Regions from separate parts of the Homo sapiens genome. Here all the other regions are linked to region 2. The links are contacts of gene promoters, found by promoter capture Hi-C in human tissues and cell types (Jung and others, 2019). All regions are on one chromosome and are shown on one strand. Each heading gives the region's core, a stretch centred on a gene start or on the middle of the fragment in contact. The rest is flanking DNA. Distances are from core to core; before and after follow the strand shown. Region 1 has its middle 5.0 kb from the start of LINC02629. Region 2 holds the start of NRP1 (neuropilin 1). Region 3 has its middle 75 kb from the start of LINC02629. Region 4 has its middle 110 kb from the start of LINC02629.

The links. The method cuts DNA at HindIII sites, captures the fragments that hold promoters and counts their contacts. A contact is called where the count stands out against the background at its distance.
Region 1: a fragment that was not itself captured here is called in contact with the fragment with the promoter of NRP1 in region 2 in 1 of the 25 tissues and cell types used here (aorta).
Region 3: a fragment that was not itself captured here is called in contact with the fragment with the promoter of NRP1 in region 2 in 1 of the 25 tissues and cell types used here (mesenchymal stem cells).
Region 4: a fragment that was not itself captured here is called in contact with the fragment with the promoter of NRP1 in region 2 in 1 of the 25 tissues and cell types used here (dorsolateral prefrontal cortex).

The regions. Positions count from the first base shown.
Region 1 is chr10:33,897,826-33,900,525 of GRCh38, reverse strand. No RefSeq gene overlaps it. Among named protein-coding and RNA genes, the nearest start is that of LINC02629, 5.0 kb to the left of the region's middle. The HindIII fragment of the contact is 4,892 bases long and covers 1-2,700 here.
Region 2 is chr10:33,333,284-33,335,983 of GRCh38, reverse strand. NRP1 (neuropilin 1) reads left to right here and starts at 1,317. Exons shown (of 17, transcript NM_003873.7): 1 at 1,317-1,674. The coding sequence starts at 1,602. The HindIII fragment of the contact is 10,676 bases long and covers 1-2,700 here.
Region 3 is chr10:33,978,179-33,980,932 of GRCh38, reverse strand. No RefSeq gene overlaps it. Among named protein-coding and RNA genes, the nearest start is that of LINC02629, 75 kb to the right of the region's middle. The HindIII fragment of the contact is 8,076 bases long and covers 1-2,754 here.
Region 4 is chr10:34,015,264-34,017,963 of GRCh38, reverse strand. No RefSeq gene overlaps it. Among named protein-coding and RNA genes, the nearest start is that of LINC02629, 110 kb to the right of the region's middle. The HindIII fragment of the contact is 3,714 bases long and covers 1-2,700 here.

The DNA of each region.
Region 1 (2,700 bases), core at 62-2,561, 560 kb before region 2:
GTTCATTTTTCACAGCAAAAATTAAAGGATTATTATTTTTTTTGCAGTGCTTTTTTTGTTTTCTGACCCCAGTATTGATTCTGGGGTAAACTCTGCCATTTCCCCTGGACTGGTAAAATAACCTTCTAGGTTGGCCAAAGGGTCTGGAGCAGGTCCAAATGACCTTTTTTTCCTCTCATCCTGCCACACATCACACACACCATATTTATGTTGGCTCTAGGATTTGGAAAATATTTTGTTTTTTAATCCTATTGTCTTCTGTTGCAATTCTTCTTAGAAAAAAATTAGCAGGAGGGCCAAAGCTAAAAACATGAGTCTCTTAAGAAAGTTCCTTAAAGTAGTATAAATGCTGTGATTTGAACTATGTATTCACAAAGTTCAGAAACTTTCTTTTGGTTGTTACTGGAGAACTTTTCTCAATGTATGGGACGTCAGCTTTTGGAATCTCACCTTGCAGGTAAGGAAAGCTGGATCATAAAGCTTTAGGAGCTGACTCATGGAGTCCTGAGACTTCACATGGCCAGTTCAATGTGGTTTTGTTTGTAATCACGTCGTCCCTTTGCCCTGTTGGACAAATTTATTTATTTGACAAAGTAAAATTAAAATCAGAAAAGCTCATTGTTTCCTAATTTTAAGTTCAAATGAGGGAGGTTTCTGAAGGGTGGGAAATTATTTCCCTCCTTTGCAATGATGATGGGTCATGTTTCAAAGCAAAGCTCTGTAAGGAACATAGTGCACTTTTTTGTTTACTTTGCCTTTTCCCACAGCACAGAACTGCACCCTTTATTATTACTGTCATAGTTGGCTGAAGAAGAGCTGTCTGTCCAACTGGAGGATGCTCTCTGAAGATCTGTTCCATACAACGTTCTGCTCTAGCAAAATCGTCCAACAAGAAGAAGTTTATATTTAAACAATGTCATCTCTACCACATATACATGTATCTCACTTGAAGTTTTTAAAATTAAGACATTGTCTGTGCTAATGCTTTTTAAAATATGGCCCCACATTATTTCAATTCTATAAGTTTCTCACTTTAAAAGTGATTAACCCCTAAGAGAAGGGAGAAAGGGCATCGTAGCCAGGAGGGAGCAGTGGAAACTTCCTCTCTCCCATGCCAGGCCCTCAAGGTAAGGGCCCCAGAATAGATTTGACCTCTGCTGCATTTCCAAGGCCTTAGAAACTTCTTCCTTAGCTCAAAGCTTCCCTTTGGTTGTTTCCAAAAATGTGATGAGGGCAGGGAAGGAGATCAAAGACTGAGGGATGAAAGGTTGGAGATGGGCCTCTGGGTAGGAGAAGAGGGGTAGTGCCTTTGCAGGATGTGAATGGAAAGCATGAATAGAGATATTTTTGTTGGATAAAAGAAGTGATCACCAAGTTTTCTTCAGTTAATCAATACATAAACCATAACAAGCAATGCTAAATCTGACATGGAGTGAAAGTGTTACTGACACACCAGGAGTTTGGTCTAGGTCCTGCTGCTGGCTGCACAGGAAGCAAATCACTGAGACAATGAGGACTGCCAGGGAAGAAGGATTTAATAGGGTGCTGCAGCTGAGGAGCTGGGAGCTCAGTCTCAAATCCATCTCCTTGACCAACTACAAGTAGGGGTTTATATAGCAGGGATAAAATATAACTATATACAGGTAAACAAGAATTACAGAGGGGTAAGAAAATAATGAGGGACCCGGCACAGTCCCAGTACTTTGGAAAGCTGAGGTGGGTGGATAGCTTGAGGCCAGGAGTTGGAGACCAGCTTGGCCAATATGGCAAAACCCCATCTCTACTAAAAATACAAAAAATTAGCCAGGCGTGATGGCAGGCGCCTGTAACCCCAGCTACTTGGGAAGGTGAGGCAGGAGAATCGCTTGAACCAGGGAGGTGGAGGTTGCAGTGAGCTGAGACTGCACCACTGCACTCCAGCCTGGGCAACAGAGCAAGACTCTGTCTCAAAAAAAAAAGAAAAAAAAAGAGGGATGAGGGTTCTGGCTTCTTATGGTCTGCATGTGGTGATCTGGTGAGCTTCAGTTCCTTGATACCATCTGGGAGGACTGAGAGTAGGTTTCCTGAGGGGGGAACTCACATAAGATGAATGCAAGTTTCAAGCTTTAAGACCAGGAGGGCCAATTTCTATGTTCATTTAATGAGACTGAAACATCAGTTCTGTGGGACAATTGGGCTGGTTTCAAAAGTCTACCACTTGCTTTTCCAACACAAGCATGTTGACTCTCTTCTTTAAAGCAACTTGATAAGGTAGACTTTCCTGTGCAAGAAAACTTTCCTATTTACAGATGGCCTGGCTCACTAGCTAAGAGGCATTCTAAACAAATGTATTCACCTTACCCACAGTTTTAGGAGGTAGCAAGAAACAAATTAACATCAGAGCACTCCGAACCCCTTTATTTAATAGTTAAAGACCTTGGAGGGCTTTGGCCAGGGACAGTGATACTCTCCAAGTCAAGTGTCACCAGCTGACCCCACTCCCCATGCCTAGCCGCCTTTCATGAAGCACTTTTGGTCTTTCCAGCACTAGAAACATGCCCATACTTATTTCAAGAGGTTGACAGTTTGGTCATTAAATTAATCCTACCACCACCCTTTGCTGTAGGGCTTCAGCAAGAGCATATTAAATGTATACACCTTGTTCCTTTTATAGATTGGTTCTGAATGATCTCACTGTGGAAGGAAATAAAATGTAAAGTT
Region 2 (2,700 bases), core at 68-2,567:
CCTCGGGGACGGGCCTGGGGGGCATCCAGCGGGCTGGGGGCACGAGCCGCTGTGGGAAGTGGGGGTGGCAGGAGCTCCAGGGCCGGCGTGCACGTTGTCTGTGGCCGGGAGCGGACACTGAGAGGGCGCAGCGAAGAGCACCCCTCCCCCGCCACTCTTTCCCTCCCTCGGGATGCACAGAGAAACGGGGGCCGCCCGACCCCTGATTTCCACACCCCTCCCTAGCACCTGGGCTCCCAGACAAGGTTGGGCGGGGTCGGGCGGCGATTGCCCCCCTGCTTGGAAGGCGCAGCACCTCCCACCCTCCGGTGTTCCCTCTGCCCCAGAGGAACGGGCACCAAATCTCGGGAAACAATGAAGCCTCCGCGGCGCGCAGAGGGCACCCAGCCGCGCGCCCTGATGCGGGCCAGGGAGGCCGCGTGGGGCTGCAGCCCGGCCTCGCCCGCCCAGGCGGTCTGTCTTCGCTTCACACCACAGCGACACTGCTGCCCCTCGCCCGGCTTCGCGGTGCGGCTCCCACTCCAGCCCGGCTTTCCCCTCCTCGCCCTCCAGCTCTGGGCAGGGGCGTCCAGGGGTGCCCCGCTGCTCCCCGCCACAGGTCTCAGGATGGCGCGATGAGGAGTGGCAGGGGGTGACCCTGCGTTCCTCGCCGCCGAGGGCGCGGGCCCCGGGATTTGAAGTTGCGAGAAGCAGCCGCCACCTCCCGGGCGCTCCGCACTGCGCGGCGGCGGGATCTGCGCCTGCAGGAGCTGCCCAGCTCTCCCTCTAGGGGTGCAGAGCGAGCACGCGAGGTGGGCTGGCCAGACCCTGCGGCTGGCACTGACCTCCGCGCCCCTTCCTCCGACGCCCGCACCCACGCGACCGGGGCGCAGACTCCCAGCGCCTTCCTTCCCGCGGAGATCCCTGCAGGGTCTCTGGGAAAGACAGACAGACGGACGGGGAGAGCACTCGGAGGGAAAGTTGTTCCTCCCAGTCTCCTGTCAGGCAATTACAGGCGAGCCCAAGCGGGGAGAGGGGCGGGAGGAAGCGAGGGAAGGGCTCCGGAGTGGGGGGAGGCCGCAGGAGGGGAGGCGGGGGTGCAGTTGGTGAAACTCCTCTGTCTCCCGCTCATCTTTTCATTGCTCGTTCCCCTCCTTCCCGCAGACACCCGGACCTCCCCTGGGCGCCAGCTCCGCGGCTCCAACGGGTCCAGAAACAAGCCGGATTTTTTTTTTTTCTTCCTGGAAATTGGCTTTGGTGTGTGTTGCCCTACCTCCCTCCTCCCCCTCCCACCCACAGCCCCCCCCCGGCCTTTTTTTTTTTTTTTTTTTTTTTTGAGACATGGCCCGGGCAGTGGCTCCTGGAAGAGGAACAAGTGTGGGAAAAGGGAGAGGAAGCCGGAGCTAAATGACAGGATGCAGGCGACTTGAGACACAAAAAGAGAAGCGTTCCTCTCGGATCCAGGCATTGCCTCGCTGCTTTCTTTTCTCCAAGACGGGCTGAGGATTGTACAGCTCTAGGCGGAGTTGGGGCTCTTCGGATCGCTTAGATTCTCCTCTTTGCTGCATTTCCCCCCACGTCCTCGTTCTCCCGCGTCTGCCTGCGGACCCGGAGAAGGGAGAATGGAGAGGGGGCTGCCGCTCCTCTGCGCCGTGCTCGCCCTCGTCCTCGCCCCGGCCGGCGCTTTTCGCAACGGTAAGTGACAGGCAGAGGCGCGGGTGACAGCGGCGCCCCGGCTCCCAGCTGCCCGCCCCGGACCGGGGCTCAGGCGGGGCTTCCCGGGATCAGCCGGGAACAACCGACTCCCGGGCGAAGGAAACTTTTATCTGGGAGGAGAGAAGAAGAAATGAGATCAGGCGGTTTAGAGCAGGAGGATTTCAGGTCTTTGGGCTCCCTCCTGACGTTGATCCTTGGGCTGTGGGGCTTTTCCTTACCTCTGTTACAAGACAGAGCTGTCTACCTTCCCAGATCAGCATGCCAATTATCTTAATAATGTTTCCTCCCAAAGGCAATTAGAAGAGACTCCCTTTCAAAAATCTGATGGCTGTTGAAAGTTAATGAACACTTTACCAGGAGATCTTACTTCCTGGTTCCTTTGCTGCTCCCCTAAGCCGTTTCCTCTGGTGGGTGACGGCCAGAGATATCGGTTTGTGGGTTGATGAAACTCCCTCCCCCGCCTTTGTACACCTTCCGTAATCTGTCTGGAGTATGACTGAAAGTTACATAGTATCAATACAGGAATCTGACATATACAGTGTAAGGCACCAGGATATCTGAAAATCCCTAAGCTAGTTGCAGCTTCCACTTAGCTTTTAAAATCACTCACTGTTAAGTAAATGAAAAACTATACTGGGGTCTAAACAGTACCATGTAACCTAAATAATGTGTTTTAAAATGGGATCTGGTTGTAGGCATGTTTGACTTCACACTGTAAAGTAAGTGCAGGCAAGGGTATGCAATTATCTTTACAGTAAGTCGTCAGCAATTGTTATTAACTAATGATCAAATATTTACTTTTGTCTGGCTTAGATTTCAATCACAGTAATTAGAAGAAAAGAACATCCACTACTTACTGTGGTATATTGTTTTAATAAGAGACCGCAAGTGGAGGGCCTCATACCAACAGGAATTTAAATCACATCTTTATGATGGAAGTTAATCTCTCTAATATGCTTTTTCAAGGTTTTGTGATTTTAGCAATGGATTTCCCTCAGCAGCTAC
Region 3 (2,754 bases), core at 197-2,696, 640 kb before region 2:
GATGATTTTAACGCCAAACCCACTTTGTGTGGTTCCCTTTAATTCAAATACTTGCATTCTACAGAGAATAAAATTTTAATCTGTGGGATCTTCCTGGTGTCCAGGAATTTTGCTGATGATGACATATACTGTGGCAGGGAAAGTGATGAAGAGACACCCTCAGAGCATGGTGCATGGACTGTGTGCTGGCTGAAACACAGGGTATAAGGACTTGGGTTGAGGAATCAAAGTGCCTACTTTGGCTTTTAGCTAAAAGTACCATCTTCCAGGGGCAAGGAGAAAATGCGGTGATTATGGGATGATTTTTCAGAGTTGAAATCAAATTAAATGGTTTTTGGGAATGAGTCTTTTTGGCTTAAAAAGATTAAAAGGCATTTATTTTACTATAAAACACAAGTTTCGTTCCCCCTTTGAGTTAATTACTGGCTCTATCCTTTACAAAATGGACTACACTGCAATGGTATGGCAAAGCAAGCTGGATTTCTGTCACTGGTGTGGTAAACACGGTCCCCGTCCCCAATTGCAGACTAGCATAATGCTAAGTGCTACTTAAACGTGATCTAAGATGGGTTGATTTCATTGCTCTTAATCAGATGTCAGGAACCAGGAATAAACATAAAAATGAAGTTTGCCAGAGGAAAAAAAATCTGCCAGTTACCCTCAGTGAGGTGAAAATTGTCATCATTTAAAGCCATCTTCACTTACATATCACATTTCCAAAAAGGCTGCTTGGATTCTCATTCCCATTTTCCACGGGCCTCCAAAGACAGCTTTGAACCATATTTAATTGTTTGTTCTTACCCCCAGTCTTTGTCTTTTGCTTAAACTGCTTTCTGAAACTGATGATGCTAACACATGTTCACTTGTTCTGGTCTCTGCTTTCTTCCTGGATATAGTCTCCAAAAATTTGCTTCTCCTCTATATTTCAGACATTTTTCTTCCAACTGTTCTTACACACTAGCCAATGCTTTTTAACTAAAGTGACTTTAGAACGTTTCTTCTGCATTCAACAGATGGTATAGGACTATTGCCTTAGCTGTCTCTGTGGTTGGGTAGGGGGAGATGCATTTGCCGAAGGAGCAGGGGTAGAGGGAGGCAGAAGATTCTAGAGTCATGAAGAATGGTGTTGGGATCCTTGGGTGTGGGGGGAGAGGAGAAGGAGGTAAAATTGGAGAGAAAATGGATGGTTTAGTACTTATTTAGGCATTTTCTGTTTTAACCAACAGACTCACTCAAGATAGATGCCGACTAGAATTGGAGCCTTGGACTTGGAGATAGATCAAGGATCTGACGACTCTCTCTGCCCTCTTTGGATCAATGCAGTCTCTTTGTCATGATGTATTTCCTTGTTTTGTTCTATTCTACTTGGATACAAACTGACCGTTCTCTGTATGCCCAGTTTGAATCCCAAGAAAGCCACTTTGGTTAGCAATTTACTACTGACCCGGTTGGCCAGTGCTACACCTGGCACAAACCTGGGCCCTGGATGGACTGCCTGTGGGACGCCTCTGTCTGTCCTAACAATGTCTGTTCCCAGGCAAAGCACAGCATGAGAGCTGTGCTACTGAGCGGGAGTGGAGGCTGCAAGGGAGCTGCACATAGGAGTTAGCTGTGATGGGCTCCATTAATACCTCAACCCTATTCAGTTCTGTATGGATGCGTGATGTATTCAACAAAACAAAGAACTGAGAGAACACAGGCCTTAGAGTATTTTAATCAAAGGAGCAAACGTTGGAAATATTGGCAATGAAAGAGGTGAGGAATCTGTTGAGGCATCTTTCAGAAGAGGTAAAGATAGTTGGATGGACAGGTTGATATAGACCAAACTGGGGCTGAGTACTTAAGGCAAGTTTTAGAGGTCAAGAAAGGAGATGTATTTGGAGCAAGAAAGGGGCTTGGAGACCAGGAGCAAAGGGATGTACATTTTTCTCCACTTCTTTTTTGCAGTGCACATGGATAATTTGGTGTATACTGAATTCTTTGCCATGAATTCCCACAGGAGCAGGTGATTTCTTCTTGCCTTACAACAGTCTTTCACAGAAATATTGGAGAGAGAATATTTTTCCCTCTCAGTATCTCAAGGGCTTGAGGCTGCATTCTCTGCAGGAGATTGAGGAAGGGATGGAAGAGATTTTCATGGGTGGACCATTTTAATCCTTTTCCTTGGTACTGAGACTTGAGTCATCTCCATGACCTCTTAGCGGGTGGGTCTTTCTCTAGGTTGGAGCTGTGTTTCACACTGACTCCCTGACTTGCTCCCAAATCAGAAAAAATCTTTCCTAATGAAGAAGTACTAAAGCATTAACCAAGCTGCCACAGGTAACTAGAGTCATTGTTAGATACACAGTCAGTTTATTAATATACAAAACCCCTAGATCTTAATCTGAGTGCAACTTGAATTGGAAAAAAAAGGATTTGAGTTTGAAGATTATATGTCTTTTTGTCTCTGAAGAATATTCTGGGAATGATATTTGTGTAGAGAGAAGAAAAATATTTCATTAAAAATTTACTCTGTACATGAAAACTGAATTCCACATGAACAAAATATGATCTTTGCACAGTATATTATTTGCAGGCACTGACATTTCGGTTTCCTCAGAAACAGGTGAGCTTTGTTTTGTGCTCTATAGAGCCATATGTGCAGGTGGATTCTTAATAGGTGTTCTTTGGTGAGGAGCTCTCACTAAGTGTGTGACTGAATGGACTTACTTTCTCTATATTAAAATGCAGAGTTGTAATATGGGTAATTTTTAC
Region 4 (2,700 bases), core at 121-2,620, 680 kb before region 2:
TCTTAAAACAGTACGAGATTGTTTTAGGATTTTTTTTTTTTTTTTTAGCTCATCAGCGATCATTAGTGTTCATGGATTTTATGTGTGGCCCAAAACAATTCTTCTTCCAATGTGGCCCAGGGAAGCCAAAAGATTGAACACCCCTACCAAGTTATTTTAAAATGTACAATTAAGCTATTATTGACAATAGTCATCCTGCTGTCCTCTCAAAGCGTGGATCTTATTCATTCTTTCTAACTCCTTTTTTTTTGTTCCCATTAACCATCCCTGGCCGCTGTATCTTAACCCCTAAAGCCCTTGTGTGCTGTTGTTGGTACCTCTGGTCACCTGCTTCTTGTGTGCCTTCTGGGTCAACTCTTCTTAGACCCAGGTCTTGCTGTCTGTCTGGTGAGAGGCCTTGGCTGGCTTCACAGTCTAGAGGACCCCTTCTCTGTAACAGTCTGTTTTCTGATTCTCTCCTCCCCATACACAGCGCCCCCTAGTTCCTGGATTCCACTCCTCCAAGCCTCAGGTGCCCCAGAGGAAGAGCAGGGCTCATGCAGGTGGGTTATTTGTTGACACAAAACTCAACAAATAACTAAAGATCCAAAAAGGTACAGTTCATGCAGATGATTATGTAGATTTGCCTTAATCCTTTTTTTTTTTTTTTTGAGATGGGGTTTCACTCTTGTTGCCCAGGCTGAAGTGCAATGGCATGATCTTGGCTCACTGCAACCTCCGCCTCCTGGGTTCAAGCAATTCTCCTGCCTCAGCCTCCCAAGTAGCTGGGATTACAGGCGCCCACCACCACACCTGGCTAATTTTTGTGTTTTTAGTAGAGACTGGGTTTCACCATGTTGGTCAGGCTGCTCTTAAACTCCTGACTTCAGGTGCTCCACCCTCCTCGGCCTCCCAAAGTGCTGGGATTACAGGCGTGAGCCACTGCACCCAGCCTCTTTTTTTTTTTTTTTCTTTCAGAAGAAAATATCCCTGGACATTTTATAGAGTTTTGTCAGCAGGATTGAGCTTATATATAGGTTAAGAAGGCAATGCTCTGTGGAATAATATGAGTGTTGGGGATAACTCACCCTATACAATAAAAATAGAAATGGAATGGCTCCAGCAGTCAGGTTGCTGAAATTCACCACATTATGCATTCCTTTGCTCTAAGGCATTGATGTTCTGTGTTAAAATGCAAATACATCATCTGAGAGGACTTAGAGAACGGGGCCATGTGTCAGAGCAGGTGTCAGCAAATTTGGCTTCAGGCCTTCCCAGCTAAGCGACTTTTCTATGAAAGCCTAGAATATTAGAGATGAAAAGAATCTTAGACCCACATTGTGATTCTCCTTACCCAGAGGAATGTTTGCAATAACAGGGCTTGCAAAGTGAGCAACCTTATTCATTTAAACATCCTTGCTTTATTGAGTCCAAGTCAGCTTTCTGGTGTCTCCCATGAGATTCCCACCTCTTCTCTTTTCTAACGGAGGCCCCCTTGATCCCTTCAACTTTCCTTCTCATCCTTTGCTGCTGGTTCCCCCACATGTTTGTTTCTTTTAAATGGAAGCAACCAGAAGGTTCCCAGTTCCCACCATAGATGCCCTGAGCGGCAGCCTCACACCTCCAGATAGACACAAGAGGCATGTCATATTTTCATTCCTTTTTAGTTAAGATCAACTAAAGCCATAAATCTTTTCCTGGTGAGCTGTTATTTAAGTCACCCCTCTCCCTTCTCGTAGAGGAGCAGGTTTTGACACCCTGCCCCCACTACCCGGGGCAGGATTTTAAATGTACCTCAAATACCTTTATCTTCCTTGATGTTTGCTAGGGACAAATATTTCAGAATCTGTTTTCTCATCTTCAAAATGGTAATGGTCATCCCTCTTCTGTCCACTATGCTTTTCAGCAGCAAGACTCCAGCGGTGAGATGTGGGTGCCACCAGTGCACTGTGGAGGGTGTGGGGACCTGCTGCAATGGAGCTCCAAGCCACTGGCTGTGGCTTCCTGAAGTGCTGTATTGACCTCTATTTAGACCTAGCTGGAAAGAGAATGGTGACTAATTTGTGATGTCTGCTGTGATGTGTGAGTGTATGTGTGTGCACACAGCATCATTCTTGACACAGATTTGTCATACTATACCCATGCAGGAAATATTATCATTATTAATTCATTAACATTTGAATACGTATTAATCACCCAGCTTGCATTAGAAGGCAGGTACATTTTGGTGAGACAGGAGCAGGGCACATCACATGGAAGGATTTTTCAGCAGAGCCCTGAGGGCATTGTGGGGTAAATGTGAAGATGAGGGCTGTTATGAAAGGAAGACAAGGAAGGCCATGATCCAATTAGTTCACCCCTCACATTTTTTTTTTGAGATAGGTTCTTCTCTGTTGCCCAGACTGGAGTATAGTGGTGTGATCTTGGCTCACTGCAACCTCTGCCTCCCAAGTAGCTGGGACCACAGATATGTACCACCATGCCTGGCTAATTTCTTGTGTTTTTTTGTTGTTTTTTTTTTTGTAGAGATATGGTCTCTCTGTGTTGCCCAGGCTGGTCTCAAACTCTTGAACTCAAGCAGTTCTCCCACCTTGGCCTCCCAGAGTGCTGGGATTACAGACATGAGCCACCATGTCCAACGTACCCCTCAAACTTGATTCTAGGAGCAGTCCCAGGCTAGAAACAAGGGTTGACATAGGATCTACAGACCACCCTTATGAG